Regions from separate parts of the Homo sapiens genome. Here all the other regions are linked to region 1. The links are contacts of gene promoters, found by promoter capture Hi-C in blood cells and fetal thymus (Javierre and others, 2016). All regions are on one chromosome and are shown on one strand. The core of a region is centred on a gene start or on the middle of the fragment in contact, and the rest is flanking DNA. Distances in the headings are between cores, read along the strand shown.

Region 1 (3,060 bases), core at 411-2,910:
TTTATTCTCAGTAGTGTAGCCATCCTCATTATTATCAAACAGAACTAATTGCTGAGATGCTCATAGTAATATGCAAAACAGCTTGTCCTTTGTTATTTAGAAATTGTTTATATTAAGTTTATATTCTCTTTTAATTTGTTAAAGATATAATTCTTTGACTGAGATAGGACATTTCTTCTCATTGGTTTATTTATTTTAGAGATGAGATCTCACTATGTTGCCCAGGATGATTTTGAACTCCTGGACTCAACCAGTCCTCCTGTCTCAGCCTCCCCAAATGCTAGGATTACAGGTGTGAGCTACTACACTCAGCCATTTCTTCTAGTTTTAGATCTATATAATAAAACGATGCTTTTCTGTGATCCCTTAACATTCTCTACACTCAGGTGCATGTTCAAAGCATATTTGTTTTACTGTTGCCTAGTTTTCCATGTCATTCATTGAATTATCCAATGCATATTAATTATCAGTCACTTTTCCCATTACTAAGGGTACTTGAGTGAACAGAGCAGACAAAAACCCCACCCTTAAAAAGCTTATATTATTTTCAAGTTGTTGCAACTTTGGGTGTTTTTAAAAAATAAAAATTCCCAGCTGATAAAACCAACTTATTTGACAGCTACCTGCCTCACCAGTAGAACCAAGTTATAGCCAGAATTCAGAAATAACATTTTTGAGCATTTATTGTGTCTGACAATGTGCCAATCACTTTACATTTATTTTAGCTCATTTAATGCTTACAACAACTAGAAGGAGGTACTATTAGGATCCCTATTTTACAGATGAAAAAAGTGAAGGTCAGAGAGATTAGTTAAGCAGAGGGTACAAGATTAGGTTCCAGTTGACTCTTAACAACCATTTCATATTCCAGGTGATGCTTTACAGACATCTGATGAATGGATGGATGAATGAATGCATGCACTTTGGGAACTCCCATTCAGCTTGGCATAAATACTAACTCCTTAGAATACCCTAGAAAAATCTAGACCTTTTGTTGGAAGAAAAGAGTGGGAAGGGTGGTAGGGAATTATTTTTTCGAGTGAATTGAGGCAGATGATCTTACAGATGACTGGGTTCTAGTCAGCATGGTTGCCTTATCTGGTGAGAGATGAGAATTGGGCAGACACCAGTTCTGTCTGCCCTGGGCCCTCAAACTGAGTAGCCTCTGAGATTCAAGTTCATCAGCACAGTGTTGGAGGACAGTTCCTGCAGAGCCCCATGAATCAGAGGAGACTCGGAGGCAGGAGGAACTGGCTATCCTAAAGGTGATTTTAAACCGGGGTAGCTAGAGCCCAAAGAAGGGCGAAACCAGGACTAACTGCCCCATAGCATGAGGGGCAGCGCCTGTAAAATTACATAGGATTTGTAAAGGTGGAAGGCACTGTTGCGCCGGGTAAAGCTTCGCAAGGTCGTGGTAGGGGAAATGATTCACTCCCCTTCACTATTCCCTCGCAGCATGGTCCTCACAACCCCCTTCTCTTTCCCCATTTCCATTTCCGGACTCTTCTCCTGCCCGCAGGGCAGACGCACGCGCAGAGAGATTGCCAGCCCTGGCTGCCAGAGACCCGGAAGCATCGATCGGCTCTGTGCTCGGCTTCTAGACTTGTCGGCGCTCGATTGAGGAGCGTGGCTACGTTGCTTCCGGTGCCTGGCTCCGTTTCCTGCTTTTGGTTCTTACAGTAGTCGGCGTAGGCCTTAGGTGGGTTCGTGCGCCTTCTACCTCGCTGTTTCGGTTTTCCTGGCTCCTCGGCCCTTTTCTCCCCTGTTGCAGCTGGGAGCGGACGAAGCGCGAAGCTGGGGTGGGTACGCGTTTGGCCCGGGTTTGGATCTCGGAGGGGCAGGCTTGGGGGTGAGGAGACTGACTCTGGGGCCGGGCATCGCGTGGCAGCTCCCTTGGACTTCGTTAGGGGGCCTTGGGCGAAGGTGCTTGTGTCTGGAGAGGCGGGAGGCTTGCGCGTACGAAGTAAAGGATAGTTAATGTCAGTCTGCTCGTGCGAGGCGTGGACAGTTCACTGCGCTTTCAGGTGTCTTCCAGCGGCTCCCTTTTGGTGGTGGCGGGTAATTCAGGGTGTCCCTGTAACAACGCAGCCCACGATCAAACCTCGCATGAAACCCTGCAAGAGCCTCCCCTTTGTCCCCCTACCTTCACTTTGACCTCTGCCTCAGTCACTTCCCTTTCGTCGTCTCCTTTGCGACCCCTGCCCCTTCTCCAGATTTCGATTTAGGGGGTCGCAAGGCTTTGAGAAGCGTTACGTTTTACCTGTTACCTGCACAAGTGCAGCCCCTGCTTGTAGGCTCTTCCCTTGTCAATCATCCAATGCAGTTCACATACAGTGGATGCTCTGTAAATACTGTGAGATAAAGGAATATGTGGGGCACACAAGGAAATCATCCAAGTTCACAATTTGCAAGTAAAAACCATGTAAAAAATGCAATAGTGTGGTATATGAGGAAGACAAGTGTAGAGGAGAAAGCAAGGGCTGAATTTCCAGGCCTGATGCTTATTAGCTGTGTGACCTTAGGCAAGTTCCTTACCTGGTAATAGCTGTTAATAATAGCTACTCTTAAGTGTTTACCGCTGATGCAGAACTGTGCTAGAATTCATTTAGTCTTCTGAGTTCTATTGGGTAGGTTCTGTTACCATTCTTATTTTACTGATGAGGACCTGAGAGGTTAAGGAACTTCCCTCAGGCAAACAGCTAGTAAGAAGCATAAATAGGATTTGAATTCACATCTGGCTGATACTGGAATCTGAGTTTAATCGTCATGCCACACTGCTGTCATTGAGCTCCTTTCTTTCAAGTCGGTTAGAGATAACCTTGGAGTCCAGACAGCTTGGTGATGCTGTATACAAATTAATAGGTATGGAAGGACTTTGTAAGTGCACCCATTAAGTAGTTGGCAAACTTCATTAATGTCTAACCTTATGATTTTTACTGGATGTACATTTGCTACTTTGGTCATTTTTCTTCAAATCTACATTTTAAAATTATTTCATTGAGGAGGTGGAAAGAAAATGTCACGTGTCATAAGTGAAACGTAAGTGTAAAAATAAATGTG
Region 2 (3,337 bases), core at 805-3,304, 2.1 Mb after region 1:
AAGAGGAATCTTATTATAGTTTTAATTCAAATTTCCCTAATGACTAATGACGTTGAGCACCTTTCCATGTGCTTCTTGGCCAGCTGCATTGGAATTTCTCTAATGAGAGAAGCACCCACTTATAAGAGAGAAACTCATGAAGGGGGTGGAAATCTCTTTCTTTAAAGATATATTTTATGTCTTAATACATAATAACAATTCAACAACAAACATTATTCCAGAAGGATCAGGTGAAACAAAAATTTTGGTTTTGAAATGTCCAAACCCATAAACTCTTGGGTTCAAAGTAGTTAGCTATGTGCCTTTGGACAAGCTACTCAGCCTCTCAATTTCCTCATTTCTAAGGTGAGAACAATGTTAGTAACTACCCCAGAATATTATGAGGTTTAAAGGGCTTTACTACAGTGCTTGGAGGATTGTTATAGCTCAGTAAATATTAACAACAATAATAATAATATCAACAATTGGCTCAGTTGTTAAATACTTCAGTATTTTAAAAAACCTATAAAACAGCATAAGCTTATGTCCACACAAAATTTTGCACACAAGTGTTTATAGCAGCTTTTTAAATAACTGGCAAAAGCTGGAAGTTACCAAGATGTTCTTCAGTAGGTGAATAGATAAACTGTGTTGTAGCCATATGATATTATTTAGTGATGAAAAGAAATGAGCTATCAAGATACAAAAAGACATGGAGAAAACTTAAAATGCACATTGCTAAGTGAAAGAAGCCAATCTGAAAAGGCCACATCCTGTACGATTCCGCTATATGATATTCTGTAAAGGGCCAAACTTTAGACAGTGAAAAGATAAGTGATTGCCAGAGGTTAGGGAGGAGGGAAGGATGAATAGACAGAGTTCCGAGGATTTTTAGGGCAGTGAAGCTGCTCTGTATGATACTGTAGTGGTGGATACATGACATTATGCATTCGGCAAAGCCCATGTAATGTACCTCACTAAGTGTGAACCTTAACACATTAACTGTGGACCTTAATTAAAAATAATGTATCAATATGGGCTCATCAGTTGTAACAAATGTACCACACTGATGCAAGATATTAAAAATAGGGGAAACTAAGCAGGGGAGCAGGGAGATGAAGTGTTTCAGAACTTTCCATGCTTCTCAAATGTTCTATAAACCTAAAACTGCTCTAAAGAATAAAGTCTATTAATAAAAAAGCAAATGAAGAAAAAAATAAAACATTTTTACTTGAAAATGTTTAAATTAAATGTTTCTTCTCAGTTTGAATCATGTTTTTCCCAAAGTGTGTGTGTGTGTGTGTGTGTGTGTGTGTGTTGTAAACTTTAACCTAGAGACAAATTACGAGATAGTTTTTATTTTCAAACCAGCGAGAATGCAACAGGTATGTGGGGGATCATATTTATCTATATCTATATCGTCTATAACTATATCTATATCTATCATCTATCTCTATCTAATCTCTCTATCTTCGTGTTGTAGTTCAGCATATTACACATTTTAATGAGCAGAGGAATCATTGGGCATCTTGTTAAAATGTGGACACCAATTAAGCAGGTCTGCGTGGGATCTGAGATTCCATATTTCTAACCAGCTCCCAGGGATGCCACTGATGCTGGTCCACAAACATTTTAAGTAGCAAGTGTGTAGACAAAAGCAACTGAGTGTGTGGAGCCTGACTCAGGTAGGGAACATTATGTCATCATCTCAGCCAAGCCCTAGCACTGAATGTGTCTGTCTGTCTGCTGTGTGGAAAGACTGCAGGCTGTAACTTCAGTAAGATTTGTCTGTTTAAGTACTGAAGACTTTGCCCATAAGGACTGGTTTGCAAGCCCAGCTATTACTTTTTTTGGACTTTACCACAGTCAGTTAGGGCCACAGTAATGCTGAGTAACAAACCACTTAAAAGCTCAGAGGATTAAAATGAGCAGAATTTATTCTCGTGGGTCTACATGGTAATTTCCTGCTTGACTGATTTAGGTCAGCTCCACACGTGTCTCATCCTTCCTGGACCAGCAGCTCCCTAGGGCATGACCTTGTCATGGCCATGGCAGAAGCACAAGCATGAAAGCCCCACTGCGCAAGGACATTTCAAGCCTCTGCTCACATCATGTCCGATAACATCCCGCTGGCCAAAGCAAACCCCACGGACACAGCCACCTTCACAAGGGTGGGTAATTTTGCTCCACTTACGACTACATAATAATCCCACTACAGGTGTGATGGATTAAGACCTGTAATTTGACCTATCACAGTCTTTGCATCAACAGAGTAAGAGGTGAAATTCTACTTAGATAAGAGCCTCACCCACAGTAATACATGCCATTTCCTGAAGCCATATCAAATATAAAAAAATTTTTCACCACTGCCTCTGAACAGGTTTCCTGTTGCTGCTGTCACTGTCTTAGAACTCAAAGATATGTGGGCTGCAGACATATATGCGTACATATAGAATGATGCTGTAGTTGGAATGTGTGTTTCCTCCACATCTCATGTTGAAATCTGATATCCAGTGTTAGAGGTGGGGCCTAATGAGAGGTGGCTGAGTCATGGGGATGGATCTTCATGAAGAGAGGATAACCTCATAAAGAGATTAATGCCTTCCCTTTTCGGGGATGAGGCGAGTGAGTTATTGCTCTGTTAATTCCTGAGAAAGCTGGTTGTTACAAACAGCCTGGCACCTTCCCCCGCCTTGCTGCCCCCATGTGATCTCTGTACACACTGGTTCCCCTTTGCCTTCTGCCATGAATGGAAGGGGCCTGAGGCCTTCACCAGAAGCAGATGCTTCTTGTACAGCCTGCAGAACCATAAGCCAAATAAACCTCTTTTTTTTTTTTCATAAATTATCCAGCCTCAGATATTCCTTCATAGCAACACAAAACAGATGAAGATGAATGGTGGAACAACCAACCAACCAACCAAGTGCTGACAAGTGTGCAGAGTGTCTTAGGTTGAGCTGCTGTAACAAAATATTATAGACTAGGTGGCTTAGATGACAGAAATTTATTTCTTACAATTCTGGAGGCCAGGAAGTCCAAGATCACTGTGCCCGCACATTCAGTGTCTCCTGAAGGCCCGCTTCCTGGCTGGTAGATGGCCATCTTCTGGCTTAGAGCATGTTCAGGATGGGCAGGGGGGCTCTCTTCCTGTTATTCTCTCTTCTCTGTTCTTCTTCCTTCTCCTCCTCCTCCTTCTTCTTCTTCTTTCTTCTTCTCTCTCTCTTTTTTTTTGTAGAGATGAAGTTCCACTATGTTGCCCAGGCTGGTCTCAGACTCCTGGACACAAGTGATCCTCCCACCTTGGCCTCCCAAAATGCTGGTGTTATAGGTGTGAAGCACTGTGCCTGGCCTCCTCTTT
Region 3 (3,020 bases), core at 349-2,848, 2.9 Mb before region 1:
TTGTCATCAGTTTTCATTCATTAATAGAGGGATTGGCAGCCTGTAGCATGCATGGCCAAGATAACAGAGGATCAGTAATAAGTCACACACACCCCTTCCCCAGCATACCCCAAGGACTTACCTGATGTAATCAAGGAGCCACTTTATCCAAAGGCTTGAGAGATGATGGTGGGCTGATGATATATCACTCGGGCTCTAATAATAAAAATGTTATTCAAATACAGCATTTATTTTTGTTCTGCTGTAGAATCTGTGTTCATGATTCATTTCAAGAAAGAAAAGAGAAACATACTAGAAATTAGACCTCTCTGTTGGAAAAAGTTACTTCCCACTGATTTCAACATATGAGCAGCACTTAACTCTGTGCTTAGTGCAATTCTCTGAGGTTTTTCTAATACCCTAATTTTACCGGTGAGCAAATTGAGGCATCGAGAAGTTAAGTATCTTGTCCATGGTCACACTGAATCTGTAGTTACAATTTGAATTCAGAGTCCTGTACTGCATATTTGATATGTATGTGATTCTTTAAATTCAGGTTAACATGTATATTCAGCGAAATGTATTAATCTTAAAGGTACAGCTGCTTGTATTTTAACCACCATCCTGAACAAAATATTGAACATTTTCAGTCTCCCAGAAGGTAGCCTTGTGCTCCTTCCAAATTGATAACCCCCTCTTTTCCTAAAGGTTTCTTGTTTGTTTGTTTTTCAGATGGAGTCTCACTCTGTCGCCTAGGCTAGAGTGCAGTGGCACAATCTTGGCTCACTGCAACCTCTGCCTCCTGGGTTCAAGTAATTCTCCTGCTTCAGCCTCCCTAGTAGCTGAGATTACAGGCATGTGCCACCACACCTGGCTAATTTTTGTATTTTTAGTAGAGACAGGGTTTCACCATGTTGGCCAGGCTGGTCTTGAACTCCTGACCTCAGGTGATCCACCCACCTTGGCCTCCCAAAGTGCTGGGATTACAGGTGTGAGTCTCCTAAAGGTTTTAAATAGACCGTATATTTTCAGAAACTATGGCCTAATACTTTCAGATGCTTTCGTAATGCTGCTTTTTCTTAACTGTAATGTCTGTTACAGAAATCAGATGTCTTAGTTTTTGATACATCTTATCCTTAGGAATATTAAGAGAAATTATTTACACTTATAAAATGATATTTAACAAAATAGATATAATCATTAACAGGTTGGTTTTATATACCTTCACTTAGCGTTTATTGAGCATCTACCCATGTGCCAACCACGGAGCCAGTGGTGGAAATACGTAGTTCCTGATCTCAGGGAGCTTATGTTGTACTAGGGAAGAAGAACGCAAAGATAGAGACAGACTCCTACATTCAACTGTAAAATGAAATCATTTATAATAAAGTACAAGGAGAAACACAGGAGGAAAAGGCCCTAAATCTGCTTAGGGGGTCAGGAATGCTTTTGCAAAAGAGGCAGCACCTAAACGAAAATGAGTTTGCCCGGAGAATGAAAGGTGGGTTGAGGTTTAGGGGAGCTAACATTGCATCCACATGGAGGTAGAATAGGATATGCACATCCTTCACTCTCCTGATTAAGGAATGGTACCATAATCCAGTATTCCTTGAGTATATAGAACGGGGAGATGATGGGAAATGAATAGGATCAGAGGCTTCTAGATTTTTTTCAGATTAGCGTTGTAATGTCTTGGAAGAATTTTGCATAGAGGAGAGAAAATGAGATACATTTGTGTGTGTTAGAAAGCTCACCTTCCAGCATTGTTTATGAGGCATAGTTTATGAGGAAGGGAAGACTAGAGCTAACATGGTTAATCTGTTTGTTTGTTTTTTTTTAATGTGTGAGGAAACCCAGGCAGAAGTTAAGTAACTTGTCCCAGATGTTGTAATTAGTGAGTGGTAGAGCCAGGATTTAAACCTAGTCGAACAGCCTGATTTGTATGCTGAAATCTTAGCCATTCTGCCTTGGAAAAAGTCAGAGGCAGATGAGATGGGAAGAAGCATAGTCAGGGGATGATGGAGGCAGGGAGACCGTGGGAGACTTTCAGGTGTGCCATTCTGCTGACTAGAAGATCATGTTACTTCCAAATTTGTTTCTGGGATTTTACATTTGTGGTGTATTTTTTTTCTTAATGGTTGTGGTGTGTCTCATTTAAGCTGCTATTATTAATTCACAGAACAAAAGTCCAGAATGTTGACCTAATTTTACAAAACAAGCTGCATATCAGCTGATGAATGCATGAGAAATTTTCAAGGCTTTCACAGTGGTCTTAAGGTAAGTTCAGTTATTTTTTTAAACAATACTCAGTATTGTTTTTAGTAAACTGTAATAAATTAGGTTTATTTTTGATAAGCAGTTGAACTTCACCTTAAAAACACTGTGAGAGTCTTAAACAGTTAACCTACTAGCCAGATTTTTCTGTTATCTCAAAGCCCAGGGCGAGTCGGAAGTCCCAAAGTTTCAGTTTTTCCCAGGTGGTCTTCAGTAGAGGTCCCCCATGATGCATTAGGAGGTGTTACTCTTTTGTAGATGGCAAAACTGGAATTCGATAGAGGTTGAATGACTTTGCCCCAGGTTATATAAGAGTTAAAACTGGGAGTGTGATCCCAAAGTCCAGATTCTTTCCACCACCCTCACACTGCTTCTGCAAGAAGGGAGTTTCAGTGTGGCAGTGTGAGTGGCTTGTGAGGGAAGGCTGGAGTGCTGCACAGTTACGCCCTGTGCTCTGCAGTAGTGCTCTTGAATTTCTGTATGGCTGATGTAGGTCAGACCTTCAGAGAGTGTTATGCCTACTAATCTTAATTAGTATATCCTAATACTGATTGTTAGAAGGCATTTTAGAATTTCTAGTGCATCACATGTTTATGTCTAAAAAATTAAATCTCTTTTCTACTGGTGTTGTCCATAACTAATGCATAATTAAGCCATAGCAGCGAGAAGTTGAGCAGAAATGAAAGCACCATACCTGAGCCAACAGACTCTTCCAATGTGAGACCCAGTTTACCTCTGGTCACTTGATATGGTTAAAATGTGAGCAC
Region 4 (3,318 bases), core at 778-3,277, 3.0 Mb before region 1:
AATATAAAACAGAGATCACTACCAGTTCAAATATTTTACTTCTTATAATCATGTTGTACTAAAAGATTAAATTGGTAATACATACACTGGATTACCTTAGATCTATGAAAGAACAACTACTTTCAAATTCCAGGCCATCACAATCCTCATAAATTTTACTAGCTGTTTCCGGAGAATCACAGTCTACTACTGCATAATAGTACTTCAGTCGTTTGAATTGATAATCTCTCAATTTTTCTCTAGACGTCCTAAAGTGGGAAAAACTTATTAAGCATACTTATACAGAAACACAAAAATTTCCCTTTAAAAAATAAATGTAATTCTTTCAAGAAAAACATATTACAAGCTGGCCTTCATACCAAACCATCTTTCCTTCATGACTTTGCCTTTATAAACATTAAATACTTAAGCTCAACTTATTATTCTCACAAGGTACAGATATTTGGATTGGAATTTGGTATCTAGGAAAGGAGTGTGTGGGAATTCGTGTGTTTATCTATAATTTAACTCACAGAATAGTTACTTTGCTATTACACACTGCCTTCTCAAGTAAAACCAATAAAGATAATTCTATTATAAAATATGCTAGAAAACCATTAGCTAAAAGACATTCCTGATCTTGCAAAATGTTTGCTTAAGAGTCTATAAGTTTGATTTTGCTTAACTACAACACATTCTTTTTTTTTTTTTTTTTTTTAAGGTTCCACACAAAGCACTGATACAACTCTTTCTTTGAAGGTCTTCATCTGCTCTCTCCTGTCACTAATCTATTTAACCCTCATTTTTATTAAGTGCAAATATAGCTCCACCTAGTGGCTTAAAAACTATCTTAAATTATTTTCTATATTGCACCATGATGATAAAAAAAAAAGTTTTATCATTCTTTCACTTTTCTATTTGATTCTCAAATAAGAAAAAATTATATAATTTGAAGGCAAACAGAGCTTCAATGATGTCTCAAAAAAAAAAGCAAAACGTACTAATTCAGAGCAACGAGGCTGAAAGAATTCAAAAGAACTCCAAATCAGTTTAATCATGAAATGTTTTTCAAAAACTGCAATAATTACTTTCATGAATACAGAAATAGAAATATACACGAACAAAAATCTTCTTGGAATAATGTACCACTTTTAACAGACTTTAAATCTGTTTTGCAACCTGTTTTAACCACGAATGGCACAAGTATAAACTTTAGTTTTAACTATTAAGGTGACCAGAATTCTGAACTAATGACATGAATTTATGAGGTTTAGTTTTATGTTCTATAGTGATTTAATACCAGTCTTTTTCTGGGGCATCTTCAGGAATACTTAATAGCTCTACTGGTCCTTGAACTTGCTCTTCCTTCATCCTCTCCTTTCCAAATTCTGAAGGATATATCTAAACAGAAAAAAATAGGATCAATGTAATTTGTACATTCCTTTACACAAATATCTAGACCTGTCGAAGTCAGGAACTCTAAAAGTCACAACTTGACTCAATGAAAACAGTAAGGGTGACTCACTTCCAAATCCACTATAGGAAGCTAGAGCATCTTGAGAAATTTTATTTAAAAATAGATCACTTTGGCTAGAGACTAACAAGATACGAGGCTTGGAAACAAAAATAAGAGTATCTCCTCCACATACCACCTGGGACAAGATGGTTCCGAGATCCAAACGAAAAATTAAAAGCAAAACAAGATGCTAAGCTCAAGGAAATGTGAATAAAAACACACACATGAAAAATGACTGAATTAGTTTACATGAAATACAGAAAAATAAACATATAATGAAGATCAATTTTGTAATAACCAACTTATCTCTGTCATACCATTTATCCAGTGCTTTCTTTTAAAGAAATAGAACAGAACTGACGACAACCTTATACAGATTAGGTATAGTCTCGATATAAGAAAAAGAATTCACTCTCACCAGGTGTGGTATCTTCTAAAATCTTGCCTACTTTAAGAGTCAAGAAATAATTGTATTAATGACATTGTTTTGATACTACTAGGCTTAATATACATTTGTTAATGAACACATGCTTTTTTAAACTGTCTGAAATATGCAATTTATCAACAAGATGATCCAAGTTTTTCTTACTAACTTGAATAGTATATACACAATAGGTTTAATATGTAAGTTTATAATATATATGTAGTCACATCTTTTGATTCTTTTTTTTCCTCTTTTCTAAGTCTAGAAATTCTCACTATTGCCTAAAACACAGGGTTTTTAAATTGTTTCTTTGGCTTGACTTTTAATTTTTTTTTCCTTTGCTTCATCTAGAATTTCGCTGGAGCTATTAGGAGGTGAAGATCTGAACCAAGTTCTCTATCCAATGACCTGTTCATTTGTCCAAATATTCAAGCAGCCTATTTTGATCTAAGTTATCATATGAACTCTTTCTATCTATTCTGTTCTACCAATTTGTCCCATTTTTACCCAAACCTGTCAACCCCCATAGCATCATGAAATGTTTAGATATTGTAACTTGTAGGGTGAGTTTTTACACTTGATCTTAGCCAAAAGGCCGAGAAGCGACAGGGTGAGTTTTTATATTAGCATGATTTCTCAAAAGTTTATTAGCTAGTCTAGGCCAGGCGCGGTGGCTCACACCTGTAATCCCAGCACTTTGGGAGGCCGAGGCGGGCGGATCATGAGGTCAGGAGATCGAGACCATCCTGGCTAACACAGTGAAAACCCGTCTCTACTAAAAATACAAAAAATTAGCCGGGCGTGGTGGTGGGCGCCTGTAGTCCCAGCTACTCAGGAGGCTGAGGCAGGAGAATGGCGTGAACCCGGGAGGCGGAGCTTGCAGTGAGCCGAGATTGCGCCACTGCACTCCAGCCTGGGCGACAGAGCGAGACTCCATCTCAAAAAAAAAAAAATAGTTTATTAGCTACTCTTAATTTGTTTATTCTTTTAGATGATTATTGGTATCCTTTTTCTTAACTTTGACTTGAACTGGGATTTTGATCAAAATTACCCTAGAACAGTAGACATAACATCTTTAAATATTTAAACAGAATAATACAGGTTGAGCATCCCAAATCCCAAATCCAAAATTCCAAACTTTTTGACTGTCAACGTGAGGTTCAAAGGAAACGCTCATTGGCGCATTTCAGATTTTGGAATTGCGATGCTCATCCAGTAAGTATATATAATGCAATTTTATTTCAAAATCTGAAATTCTAAACACTTCTGATCCCAAGCATTTTGGATAAGGGAGACTCAATCTCTAATAATGATTGAGGGCAGGGCTATTTCAGGCACTGCACTAAATACTTAGTTCAAGCTCCTTTATACTTAATCCTTACAATCACCAATACTATTG
Region 5 (3,340 bases), core at 699-3,198, 3.0 Mb before region 1:
TGAATTTTTGCAATCAAACTTTGAGCAGTAGGATATAAATAACTTCCACATGCTTAGCATTCCAATAATGGACCACTAGGCATAAGTTAATCTCTCTAGTAGTCTGAGACTAACAATTCCCTTGGTGTGAAAGTGGCAACGTGCTTATAATGGAAGCATGTCTTAGTTTTTGGAAGTTACATTTTGAAGTGCTTTTTTTTACGTGTCATGGTGCTTGCAACTTTCTATCAAATATTTTAGAAAAAGAGTTGCCTCTACTTACTGTCTCTAATTCTTCTCTTCCCATTCTTCCTTCAAACCATACTACTTTCATCCCCCATCATCCCACAAAAACCATTCAATATCACCAGTGAGCTTCACACTGCTAAATCCAATGGTCATTCTCAGCCTGTATTTTATTGACCCATATTCTCACTGAAATGCCTTCTTTATTGGCAGGCTGAATACCCCGCAATTCTGAATTTCCTCCTGCTTCTCTGATAGCCTCTCCAGCTGCTCGGAATGGTCCAGGCTCATGTCCTCTACCTCTAGATGTTAGAGTGCTCCAAGGATCAGCTTTTGAACCTTTCTTTTTTACCTATATTCACTACCTTGTTGTTCTTATTCACTTTCAGAGATTTATACAATGAAGATTCTCTAATTTATATCTCTACCAGCCCTGTACTCTTAACTGTATAACCAACTGATTCCTTGGCATGTCTATTTAGGTATCAATGGGCATCTTGAACTTAATGTATGAAAAAAAAAATTCTTGATGCTCCCTTGCAAACATGTTCCATCCACAAGCTTCATTATCTGAAAATTACTCCAACAGCCATTTGATTGATCTCCCCAATTTGGTCCTTGCCCCCCACTTTAATCTACTTATCTATAGCAGCAAGAATGATCCTGTTAAATATAAAAGTCAGATTTGACTGCTCCTGAGCTCAAAACTCTCCAGTGGTTTCTCATCTCAGTCACAGAAATTCATGTCTTTATAATGGCCTACAAGGCTTTCATGTCTGGCCCCAAACTACCTCTCTGATCTCAGTTACTTCTGTCCTCCACTGTAGTCATACTGTTCTCCTTGGATTCCTCAAACACAAGAGACAAAGTATAGCTTCAAGGATACTCCTATGCTACTTCCTCTGCTCACACAGTCTTCCTGGGCCAGGCTCACTCCCTGACCTCTACTTTCTTTAGTTCCTGGTCAAATATGTTTCTTATATATCTGTCATCTGTTTAGTTTCTCCTTCACCGGAGTATAAGATCTGTGAGTTCAGGGATTTTTATGTTTTGTTCACACAGTGTATAGAATAATTCCCGGCACAGAGTAGGTATTCAGTAAGTATTTGATGGAGTAAGGAAGAGAAGTTGGGGTTCTGTAGAGTGCTGAGTAGAAAAAAGACCAGCTATCCATTTCACTAATATCTATTAGGCCAGAGATAGCTAAGAAAAACAGGACTTTTACCATAATCAAAAATTTAAGATTATAAACAAACATGCCATTATTTATTTCTGGATGGAATTTCATATATATTGTTTATATTCAGCTTGCATTATCTACAAAAAATATTATGTAGATTAACTGGACTATTAATACAGGGGAAGTTATATAAAGAGTTAAAACTGATTACACTTCATTTATACGTGTATTAGAAATTCCTCAACGAGGTACATTTCTTGATGAAGGCCCAACTGGCTAATTATATGCATCACCTTATCTACTCCTTAGTAAGTTGGCAGGATACCTTTAGCAACGCATTGAGATAGGAAATACAACTTCACATACATCAAAATAATTAAGTATAACTTTCTTTAAAAATTTTATAATTCAACATTTTTACTTATTTATAATCCTAATTAATAAAATTGTATTATTACATTTCCATAGGAACTAAAATATTGATAGAAAGAGTAGCTCATTCCAGTTGTTATGCCCACAAACCTGTTATCAGTTCCCTTAATACTTACCCTTAAGAAATTAAACTCCTCATGTTACTATACTGTATAACCCAATGTAAAAAGGTAGAACGTTTAAATAGTCTAAACTAGAATTTCTTCTGAAAAATCAAACCAAACCACAATAAATGTTAGTGATTAAGAGTACTTATTTTCCTGAAGAGGTTAATATTTTGGAGAGTCAAGCCACAGAACCAATGAATGATACGGTATAATCTCATACTGACCCTCCGTGGTTTACTGAAGCATAACATCAAAAAAGTCCTGAGGTTCAGGGTAACTGTTACAGAAAACACACATTTCTTAAGACATAAATTCACTGAAATACACGTCATGAAAGTACTTTGTAGTTTATAACGTTTGTAAGTATCTCTAAGCAAGAAAGTGGTATTATTAGTTCCAATTTCCATATGAATAAACTGAGGTACAGAAAGATTGCTCAATGATCTTATATGTATAGCACACAGAAAAACCCTTTACACTTGCATGTGCATGCGTGCATGTACATAAGGATTCACAGATAACAATACCTCATTAGGGGCCTTCAAAATATTACAGTTTAAGACCTTTGAAACTCATACATTAAAATATCAATTTTCCCCTATTCAATTAAAAGTAAAAAATATATACCCAATGTTGACGATAATTCCGTGAAACTGACACTCTTACTGATTGTTGAAGGTATTATAAGCTGGTACAACACTTCCAGAAAGCAATTTGGCAATAACTTCAAGACACAAAAAGTATTCATGCCCTTTCTTAGTAACTCTATTTCTGGGAAACTATCCTATGAAAATAATTCAAAATATGGAAAAAGCTATAGGTTATTTATAACATCCCAGATACTTGGCATCTGGGATTTAACATTTGAGGTTTTGACACTGGTAGTTTTAACAGCTTGTGAGAGAACCACAGGTTGATCTACAGCACATGTAGAGTTGCTGTGTGAGCAAGGAAGTCACGTAACTAACTAGTGAGTTAAGCCTGAATGCTAGGCATCAGCTTCTCATTGTGGCCTGGTTGTTCTCTACTAGTCCTGACATGCTTGGAAACATTTCTAGGCTGGGAGAGATGAAAAACACACCTCTGTTTTAAAAGTTTTTAAAATTAAAAGGCCCTAAAAAGGCAAGCCAATTACTTGGCTGCTCATGAAAATGAAGAAATTTAAGAAAAGCTTGTTATTTGTGGGTTTGAGATCTGTCCTATTTTTTTTTCAATGTTATAAGTCCACTGTAGTGAAAGATTAGAAATCTGATTGCATATTCAACAACAGAGAAATGGTAAATTAAACTGTAATCTTCTTAACCAGTGGTTGAATTAGGATAGTGGAATTACAGATGATAATCTTTCATTTTACATTTTCACTTCATAAGGTCAACATTACCCTAATACCAAAAAC
Region 6 (3,404 bases), core at 650-3,149, 2.9 Mb before region 1:
GTAAAACACAAATCAAATCATTGTCAGTCCTCTGCCCAGAACTGTTAGTTTGTCATCTAGTTTAGTAGTAATCCAGAGTCCTAATCTATAAGACCCTCAGGATTCTGTTTTTTTATCATGTCTCTGATCCCATCTTCTTCCTTTCACTCCCAACTTTTCAGCAACCCTGGCCTCCTTGCAGTCTCTCAAACAGGCCAGAGCTTTGCTCTATGCTCTTCCCCAAGGTATCTGTGTGTCTTAGTTGCTCACCTGTCAGATCTTTACTCAGCTGACTTCATCAAAGATTCCTCCCGTGACTGCTTTAGAAAATAGTGCCCCTGCTTTCTGCCGACTAGTTGCTTTATTTGCTTCCATAGCACTTACAAGCTCCTGATGTATGTTTATTTGGTGTCTTTCTTCTCTTACTGGATTTGCTCATTTTTGATCACTACTAAATCCTAGTACCTAAATCACAATGAGTATTTATTAAATGACTATTGCAAGATAACTTTAGAGTTTAAGTTACACCTTTTGTGACTGGAAAATTCAGGGGATGTGATGTGGCAAGGAGCACGGGATCATTCCTGTTTTAGATATGTTGAGTTTGAGATGGCAGTGGAATATGGTAGTATAAATAGCTGGCAGGTAGTTGGAAATGTGGAACTGGAATTGGGATATTGAGGTTAAGAGCATTGACTTGAAGTCAGGGCTTCAAACTTCAGCTCTGCCACTGTCTGTGTATACTCAGACCTTGGGCCAATCAATTGCTCTAGACCTCAGTTTCTATAAAATATGATCAATAATACCCATCTCAAAAGGTTGGTAAGGGGATTAAGTGAGGCAAAGTAAACCTGTCAAAGGAGGCTATAGTTCTTATTTGGAAGTCCCTTTCAGAAGTGACAATTGAAGCCGTAGAAATAGGTAAACTCTCTGAGGCAAGAATATAGAAAAGAACCTTCTGCAATTGTACTTAGGGTTGGGAGAAAGAGGAAGAGCCAATAAAGATGCCAGGAATAGTAAGATGGAAAGTGTCTTAGTAAGGTATCTTTTGATTGTTGAAAGCAAAAATGTGCTGAAGCCAGTTTAAACACAGAGACATTTGTTACAGAGAGGCTCTTATGTAACTCAGGGATCCAGAAATAGAGCCAGGCCTCACAAGAGATGGGAACTTTGAAACACCATAACAATGTTCCTCCTGTTCGCATGCACTCTGGTACTACATGAATGCTGTCTGGTTGCCTTCATTCTTTTTACTCCCTGTAGTCTATCCATAGTAGTGTTCATCAGTGTGTGTGGCCCCATATGAATATGCTACACCCAAGGGTAGCTGAAGCTAGCTTAGGCCAGCCTGTGAGAGCCAATTGTTAGCATCTCTTCCCAACCTCTGTTCTGTGACATCATATTGATAGCTTGACATCAGCCCTGGTGGGAATATTTATACCATGGAAGTTGGCAAATGCTACAAAGCAGTCCCCAACCAAGAGCCAGCACACCACTGCCTATACCCTGAAGTCTAAATGTTCTTCCAACTCCAGGGACCTCTGCTATTATCTCGAAGTCTCTTAGTTCAAATTTTCAAGTGAGAGACAGGGATAGATAATCCTGTCCATCTAATTCTTCACCCCTCACAGGAGTGTGCTGGAGCTGGCTCATGAGAGCTATTGAGCACTCTTCCCAGCTCCATATTTAGCAACATCATGTTGGTAGCATGAAATCTTTCCAAGTTTCAGACAGGGAAGTGGGTGTGGGTAAAGTAAAAAAGGATTGGCTTCTCTAATAGAGAAGGGCAGCCAGAGTAGAAGCTTCTGAAGAAGCTTCTAGTAGGCTGTTGACAATGCTGTGCTTCAAAGAGGTCAGGTGAAGCAGGACTGAGAGCAGTGAGCACAGACTGCAGATAGTGTTAGCAGAGCAGTGAAAGCAAAGAGATACCCAGAATGGGGAGAAAGAATCTAGGAAGAAGTAGAGTTGTGGATTATAAACCAAACAACCAGAAGGTACCTAGAGGGAGGAGATTTTTTGTAATTGGAAAGCTTGTGCCTGTTGTAAGGTGGAGGAAGGAGACACAGAAGACACAGACTAAAGATTGATAGAGATGGAGATGGAGAGAGCAGGATCCCGGAGAAAAGAGGGCTGAGGGGGAAAGAAAGTGTTTTTCTGGTGCAGAAATAGCACAGTCTCCTTTCCTTTTGGAAGGGAGAGAGGGTAGGCGAAACAGGGAAAATGGAACCCTAAGCCTCTACCTGTAAGTCTTTCTTTACTCTGTAAACTCTTTGGATGAACAACTAAAAGGCGGGAAACTCATAGCAGGTCCTTTGTGACACAGGAGTGGGGAAATAGCTCTTAGCATGTTATGCCATGGAAAAGTTAACACGGAAGCCCTCACCCAGTGTAGTAAATTCGGAATGTTGAATACGCATACTCATGTTCTCTATTTTATTACATATAGTTAAATATAGCAAAGGATATGTGTTATTAAAAGTATTTGTGTACCATACTGGTTTTATGCAGAAATATACCTTTACAAAGCTGAAAATTAAAATGTAATTAACACTTTTACCTTTAGAAATGTCAGCAATTGTTTGTGACTGGATTTGTTTGTTTCAGCTTCAGTTATTCCATTGCAGGAAACTATTGGAAAGTTTTTCCAAGCTGACATTGCAGAAAATGCTTTGGTAGGTAGCTTTTTAATACTGTTGGTTTCTAATCTCGTGATGTGTTTTCTCATATTTTATTTCTTTATTTTTATTTCCTTCAAACTAGCTTTCTTTTCTGACACATGAAAAGGAACTCATACAGGAAATATCAAGAACAAAGGAAAAATCACCCCTATCACCCCTAGTCCTACCATTCAGAGGCAACCATTGGTGGCACTTGGTCTCCACATTTGCAGACATATAACTGTCCCCGCCCCCCCAACACACAACTGTGTATGAACATTACTATGCTAATATTCCATGTTATTTACGGCACATCATTTTTTTTGTCAGTGAATTTATACTTATGTGTGTCATATATCATCTTTTTAAATGGCTACATGGTATTCTAATATATGAATACTCCATAGTTTATTTAGCTAAACTTTCTATTGAAGGGCAGTTACGTTTCTAGTTTCTCAATAACCAACACTGCAGTGAAAATCCTTATGTGAAGCCACATTGTATGTTTGATTTATTTTTTTCCGTGGGTATAAATTCCTGGTAGCGGAATTTATGGATTCATTTTGATGTTCATTTAAAAATTTTTTGACATACATCTTCAGACTGCCCTTAGAAAGACTGAACAATGACAAAGGTACTTTTTACTACTTTGCTTTGGCAACACTGGGCCAGCCTTTTCGTCTGGGTCAGTCTGACAGCTGCTGATATCTTTTGACTATTGGTATTTCTTGTGAATTTTGTAAATAATTTTGTGATATGCCTGCACCT

What was found. The method cuts DNA at HindIII sites, captures the fragments that hold promoters and counts their contacts. A CHiCAGO score of 5 or more calls a contact.
Region 2: a fragment that was not itself captured here is called in contact with the fragment with the promoter of SNRPB2 in region 1 in 1 of 17 cell types (non-activated CD4 T cells); the score reaches 5.4 in non-activated CD4 T cells.
Region 3: a fragment that was not itself captured here is called in contact with the fragment with the promoter of SNRPB2 in region 1 in 6 of 17 cell types (naive CD8 T cells, activated CD4 T cells, non-activated CD4 T cells and 3 more); the score reaches 12.7 in naive CD8 T cells.
Region 4: a contact is called between a fragment that was not itself captured here and the fragment with the promoter of SNRPB2 in region 1, in 7 of 17 cell types (total CD4 T cells, non-activated CD4 T cells, total CD8 T cells and 4 more). The highest score is 15.0, in total CD4 T cells.
Region 5: a contact is called between a fragment that was not itself captured here and the fragment with the promoter of SNRPB2 in region 1, in 2 of 17 cell types (total CD4 T cells and total B cells). The highest score is 6.2, in total CD4 T cells.
Region 6: a contact is called between a fragment that was not itself captured here and the fragment with the promoter of SNRPB2 in region 1, in 8 of 17 cell types (naive CD8 T cells, total CD8 T cells, naive CD4 T cells and 5 more). The highest score is 16.1, in naive CD8 T cells.

The regions. Positions count from the first base shown.
Region 1 is chr20:16,728,366-16,731,425 of GRCh38, forward strand. It overlaps SNRPB2 (small nuclear ribonucleoprotein polypeptide B2), which reads left to right and starts at 1,661. Exons shown (of 7, transcript NM_003092.5): 1 at 1,661-1,799. RefSeq lists enhancers at 772-1,640, 1,699-1,748, 1,799-1,918 and a silencer at 2,069-2,118. The HindIII fragment of the contact is 9,448 bases long and covers 1,398-3,060 here.
Region 2 is chr20:18,803,600-18,806,936 of GRCh38, forward strand. No RefSeq gene overlaps it. Among named protein-coding and RNA genes, the nearest start is that of SCP2D1, 8.5 kb to the right of the region's middle. The HindIII fragment of the contact is 3,074 bases long and covers 518-3,337 here.
Region 3 is chr20:13,812,260-13,815,279 of GRCh38, forward strand. All of the region lies in intron 8 of NDUFAF5 (NADH:ubiquinone oxidoreductase complex assembly factor 5), which reads left to right. Among named protein-coding and RNA genes, the nearest start is that of NDUFAF5, 29 kb to the left of the region's middle. The HindIII fragment of the contact is 7,931 bases long and covers 1-3,020 here.
Region 4 is chr20:13,771,236-13,774,553 of GRCh38, forward strand. It overlaps ESF1 (ESF1 nucleolar pre-rRNA processing protein), which reads right to left. Exons shown (of 14, transcript NM_001276380.2): 5 at 1,280-1,380; 6 at 96-248. Among named protein-coding and RNA genes, the nearest start is that of ESF1, 12 kb to the right of the region's middle. The HindIII fragment of the contact is 5,034 bases long and covers 1-3,318 here.
Region 5 is chr20:13,753,838-13,757,177 of GRCh38, forward strand. The region is part of intron 9 of ESF1 (ESF1 nucleolar pre-rRNA processing protein); the gene reads right to left. Among named protein-coding and RNA genes, the nearest start is that of ESF1, 29 kb to the right of the region's middle. The HindIII fragment of the contact is 2,329 bases long and covers 785-3,113 here.
Region 6 is chr20:13,790,577-13,793,980 of GRCh38, forward strand. NDUFAF5 (NADH:ubiquinone oxidoreductase complex assembly factor 5) reads left to right here. Exons shown (of 11, transcript NM_024120.5): 4 at 2,604-2,651. Among named protein-coding and RNA genes, the nearest start is that of NDUFAF5, 7.3 kb to the left of the region's middle. The HindIII fragment of the contact is 216 bases long and covers 1,792-2,007 here.